2 separate regions of the Homo sapiens genome follow, and region 2 is linked to region 1. Evidence: promoter capture Hi-C in 16 types of primary human blood cells and fetal thymus (Javierre and others, 2016). All regions are on one chromosome and are shown on one strand. The core of a region is centred on a gene start or on the middle of the fragment in contact, and the rest is flanking DNA. Distances in the headings are between cores, read along the strand shown.

Region 1 (2,700 bases), core at 53-2,552:
ATGTCCCACTGAAGCAATCTCCAAGCTTGGGAGTATAACTCCTTTCCTGGACAGATGGGAAAACTGAGGTCCAGCAAGGCAACTCGAGTCATCCAGAGTCCCACAGGACGTTCCCCCAAGGACTGGCCAGAGGCCTGCCTCCCTTGACCCATTCGAGAAGAGGGGTTTGACTGCAACTGTGTATATTTCCCAAGTACTTTAAAGGAAAAGGTGCCCCCGGTCACCCCATGCCCTCTTTGAAGGCAAATTTTGATTTGCTTGCCTGTCTGCAGGGCGTTGGCAGCAGCACACTGCTCCTCTGGCCAGCAGTCCTGGGTGCACAGACCAGGCAAGCTGGTGTCAACGAAGGGCGGTCACAGGGTAAAGTCCACTTGTACACTATGCATTTCACTTTTTTCTTTTTTTTTTTTTGAGACAGGGTCCCGTTCTGTCGCCCAGGCTGGAGACCGGTGACGCCATCTTAGCTCACTGCAATCTCCACCTCCTGGGCTCAAGCGATCCGCTTCAGCCTCCAGAAAAACTGGGACTACAGGTGTGCTCCACCATGCCCGGCTAATTTTTGTATTTTCTGGTAGAGACCGGGGTTTCTCCATATTGCCCAGGCTGGTCTCGAACTCCTGGGCTCAAGCGATCCACTCGCCTCGGCCTCCCAAAGTGCTGGGATTACCGGCAAGAGCCACCAGGCCTGGGCCATTTCAATTTTTAAAAAAAGGTTTTGGGCTATAATCTGCTTCCAGGTCACTGGTTGTGCATGTGCGCAGGGCTACCCGCCTGTCTGTTCCCCTGCCTTACAGTAGCTGACTTCCTTCGGATCCCCGTCACTGGGTGCCCAGAACAGCGCAGGAACCCGCCGAGTCCTCCGGCCCCTCTGGGCACCGGGGGTCCTGCCGAGGAGCGCCTGCAGTTTCCTGGGGTAGCTGGGTCCAGGCGGGGTCGAGGCCGCATCTTGCGAGCGGGTGGCATTGGCAGGGCATCTCCGGGCGAGGGCACCGGCGCCCCACGGCCGCGCGCAGGGCAGGGGCGCGGGGGCCCCGGGAAGCCCGAGAGGTAGGCGCGCCCGCGGCCGGGCCCATGTTTTCCCGCGTCCGGGTGACAGCCCGCCCCCTACCCCCACCGAAGCGGAGGAGGCGGCCCCGTGGCCCTGCGGCCAGGCGACTGTACCTGCTGCGTGCTGAAGTCCCAGCCCAGGCAGCAGCGGCGAGGGGCGTGCTCCGCCATGGCCTTTCGGGTAAGGCTGCGCGTCCGTCAGTCCGTCCGTCCGCCACGCGGCGTGATAGTCGCCGCGCTCCAGCGCCCAGAGACGCAGGGGCCCGCCCCTAGCTCCGCCCGGCCGGACTGTGGACCGGAGTCACGAGGCGGGCTTGCGCTCTGGCGCCGCCTGCGGGGCTACGCGAGCCGGGACCGCGTCCTGTGCAATCGACGGTGCCCCCACGCAGCCCGCTTTCCTTCGAAGCGCACCCCCTCTGGTTCTCCCCATCTTCATCTTATGTCTTCATGGGCCGTGCCCTGACACCGCCTGGCTTCCCTTAGAGGACGCCTGGGCCAGAGGTTTCAGCTATAAGCCGGCTTGTCTTTCAGAGGGAGCCTGCCTGTCCTTCTGGAGGCCCTGGGCCTGCCGTCCTCTGTGGCTGTATCTTGGCACTGGAGCAGCTGTCCACCCATGGTGGTGACTCAGGGGCCACAGGGAAATGGGCCCTGGGGTTGGAAGCACTGAGTCCTGACAAGCCCTATCCAGATCCAGCAAATCTGAATGGTTCCCAGTGTGTCACATCCCACCTGTGTATTTAAACTCAGCGGCTCCTGATGCCCCCACGGGGAGACACTCCTTCCTGGAGTCAATTGGTATTGATGGTCTAATGTGTGCCAGGCATGGTAAAGGGGAATGAGAACCAGAGTCAGACCCACTCCTTTTATTCATGGAGCTGAGGGCGCCTGTCCCACCAGCTACATCCTTCCCGTCCCTAAGACTAACTGCTTTCCAGAATTCCTCCCCAAACCCAGCATGTGAGAGGCTCCTCCTACGAACTTCCCAGCCCACCAGTGCCCTTTTCATGCACTTGCAATGGTCTGTCTCCCTTGCTGAACTTGAGCTGCTTGGAGTCTACATGGGATCCTCTTCACTGCTAGAACAAGAAGGGGCCAACATACTTGTCCTCCAAGACATTCACAGCTTATTGGGGACTCAGCCCCTCCAGCAGTCACCACCTGTGACAATAGACAAATACTGGATACTAGCTAGATCAGAAACAATTATGCAACCTGCTGAGCACATTTAATCGTCACAATGATGCTGGGAAGTAGGTACTATTATCTCCACTTTTAAAAAATTTTAAATAAAGGTATCTAAGTATCTAATCTAATTAAGATTAGATTACTGCATTTTAATCTAATCTTAACTGCTTGATGACTTTTTTTTTTTTTTTTGACAGAGTTTCACTCCTGTCACCCAGGCTGGAGTGCAGTGGCGTGATCTCCGGTCACTGCAACCTCCACCTCCCTGGTTCAACTGATTCTTCTGCCTCAGCCTCCCATGTAGCTGGGATTACAGGCGCACACCACCGCACCCAGCTAATTTTTTTTTTTTTTTGAAACGGAGTTTCACTCTTGTTGCCCAGGCTGGAGTGCAATGGCGTGATTTCAGCTCATTGAAACCTCTGCCTTCTGGGTTCAAGTGATTCTCCTGCCTCAGCCTCCCGAGTA
Region 2 (2,700 bases), core at 193-2,692, 300 kb before region 1:
TTTTCCATTATGTAGGTTCAATGGAAGTAAAACATAAAAAGAAAAGCTTTGGGCTGTTAGAAGAGAAAATGCATATGCACAAACAACAATACTACCTGTTTTACAAGGATGTGCACATAAAGACCTACTTTAGCTCCTAGAGGGGTGCCTGTGTGGAGAAGGAGATGGCAGTGGAGTGATGATGGGGGAAGAAATAAAACAAAAACACAAGAGAGGAGTAATGATATGGTTAACCCAGCTTTGAACCTGAGGCAAAGTAAAGGCAAACCCTGGGCGAAACTGAGGGGCGAATAAAGGACATACTAGTTTTTAAAAACATTTATCTCTGACAGCTGACAACATGTTCCTGTTATTGCTTTAATTAAATAGGGTTGGCCAGACATGGTGGCTCACGCCTGTAATCCCAGCACTTTGGGAGGCCGAGGTGGGTAAATCACGAGGTCAGGAGTTCGAGACCAGCCTGGCCAACATGGTGAAACCCCGTCTCTACTAAAAATACAAAAAATTAGCTGGGCATGGTGACGAGCACCTGCAATCCCAGAGACTCAGGAGGCTGAGGCAGGAGGATTGCTTGAACTGGGGAGGCGGAGGTTGCAGTGAGCCGAGATCACGCCACTGCACTTCAGCCCTGGAGGCAATGCAAGACTCCGTCTCAAACAAAACAAAACAAAACAAAACAAAAAATTTAAATAGGGTCTGGCAAAGAGAAGGGAGTAGCCAAGATCTTGGCAAGGGCTCTTTGTAGGAAGTGCCTGTCTCCAGACACCTGTTGCCTGTCTCTGCACTCTGAGGCCTCTCTAGGACCACAAGGTGTGCTTTTATGGATGAACTTCTACAGGTTCAGAGCTCTGGTTCCCCATCCCCTGGGCTTCTCTCCCCCTGTTTAAATTCAGGGTGCATGTAGACTTACCAGGCTCAGCCCACCTCTCCTGCTGGCAACATCCAGTTGCCCAATACTAAACAGGAGAGTGAAAACCCCACTTCTGCTACATATGGACGGAAGGGAGGCAGGTATCCACCCCTACTCCCAGCAGCTTCTATCCTAGCCTTGTCTCCTGCTTGACCCAATGTCAGTTTGCAAGTAGAAGCTTCATTCTGAGGCCGAGAAGCCCGTGATGGAAGTTCTTAGGGGAGGTAGGACCTTCCTGCTACTGTACTCTCCTGCCTGGTAGGTGTGACTCTGGGAAGGCGGCTGCACGTGGGTTGAAACGTTGACACTGCCTGCACTTCCCCTTCTGGCCGATAGTGGGAGCTGCTAGCCAACCTGAGGCTCGTCAGGCGCTAAAGGCTGGCAGCCGACCTGTGTGGTCCATCCGTCTGTACCCCAGACACCCCACTCAACTCGGGGCCGGAGAGGCCCATGTCCTGAACTTTCCTGTGGACTGACTTTCCTACTGATCCCCTCCTGCAAGCAGAGCAGCCCCTCCGTATGTACCTAAGGCGTCCAACGAAGCCCCACACCCAGGTCGCAAACGGACGCTGTCCCCCACCCCCCTCTTTGCCCTCCCACCTCTTCAAGATCCCCATCATGGAGGAGCAGGTCCCAGCCTCTGGGCTCCCAAACCCAGCACCTCTGTGCCCTCTGAGACCCTGGCACCCATTTGGCTCTCTAAGAGCGGTTCTTGCTTTTGGGAGCCCTGAAAATGTGGCAGAAAAGTGTACCATCCCTTCCAATGACTGTACTTTTTTCGTGGGCAAAAGCTGATGGCCTGTTTTTTGTTGTTGTTTTGTTTTGTTTTTGTTTTTGTTTTTAGAAGCGCAAGATTTATTGTGAAGAGGGAAAGAACAAAGCTTCCACAGCGTGGAAGGGGACCCAAGCGGGTTGCCCTGATGGCCTGTTTTGTTTAAACAAGAAGTGTGTCCCCATAGGTCCTGGGCATGGGCATGGGAGCAACTGTTTGTCAGCGTATGTCTCCGTGTGTGTGTGCCTGTGACCATGTCTCTGAGTGAGAAACAGTGGGTGTGTAAGTATGTGACTCCAGGCTCTGCATGTGTCAAGGTGAAGGTTGTATGTGGCTCAAGAGGGTGGAAGTATATATATAAAGAGGTATATACATGTATATATATGTATGTGTGTGTGTGTGTTTGCGCGCGCGCGTGTGTGGGTGTCTCTGTGTTGGTTGCCTGCTTGCTTCTGGGTCTGGGTGTGTGTTTGGTTCTGTCAGCATGTGCGTCCGTGTGTTCAGGTAGATGTGTACCATTGTGCAGATTTCTGTGGCATCACTAAGTGTGTCTCCAGGAAAGTGTGGTTCGAGTGAGTGTGTGTGTCTCTGTGTCAGTGTGTCAGTGGATGTGTGTCTAAGTCATGTGGGTGTCTAAGTTTGTCAGAGTGTCTTCCTCAGTGTCAGTGTGTGTCAATGATGTGTCTGTCTGTGTCTGTGTGGGTGTGTGGGGGTGTGTATCTGTCTCAGGGTGCATGTGTGTGTCTGTGTCAGTGCAGGTATGCCTATGGCAGCGTGTGTCTGTCTCGGCATGAGTGTCAGTGTATGCCCGTGTCCACGTGGGTGGGTGGGTGTCTGGTAGCCTTCCCAAGTCAGCAAGGTTGCGTGTGTGTGTGTGTATACTCTGGCGGGTGCTGGTGTGTATGCCAGTGTTTGTTAATGTGAGCCTGTCCGCGTCCGCGTGGGTGGCCATCTGTGGTGAAGCGTCGCCGGGTCGCCGTGTGTGTACCCCCGCCTATGTCTGTCTGTCCGCGGCCGC

What was found. The method cuts DNA at HindIII sites, captures the fragments that hold promoters and counts their contacts. A CHiCAGO score of 5 or more calls a contact.
Region 2: a fragment that was not itself captured here is called in contact with the fragment with the promoter of XYLB in region 1 in 2 of 17 cell types (non-activated CD4 T cells and naive CD4 T cells); the score reaches 8.2 in non-activated CD4 T cells.

What each region holds. Positions count from the first base shown.
Region 1 is chr3:38,345,387-38,348,086 of GRCh38, reverse strand. XYLB (xylulokinase) reads right to left here and starts at 1,302. Exons shown (of 19, transcript NM_005108.4): 1 at 1,162-1,302. The coding sequence starts at 1,218. RefSeq lists enhancers at 1-693, 694-1,525 and silencers at 826-885, 896-1,135. The HindIII fragment of the contact is 4,748 bases long and covers 28-2,700 here.
Region 2 is chr3:38,649,936-38,652,635 of GRCh38, reverse strand. No RefSeq gene overlaps it. Among named protein-coding and RNA genes, the nearest start is that of SCN5A, 1.6 kb to the right of the region's middle. The HindIII fragment of the contact is 703 bases long and covers 1,091-1,793 here.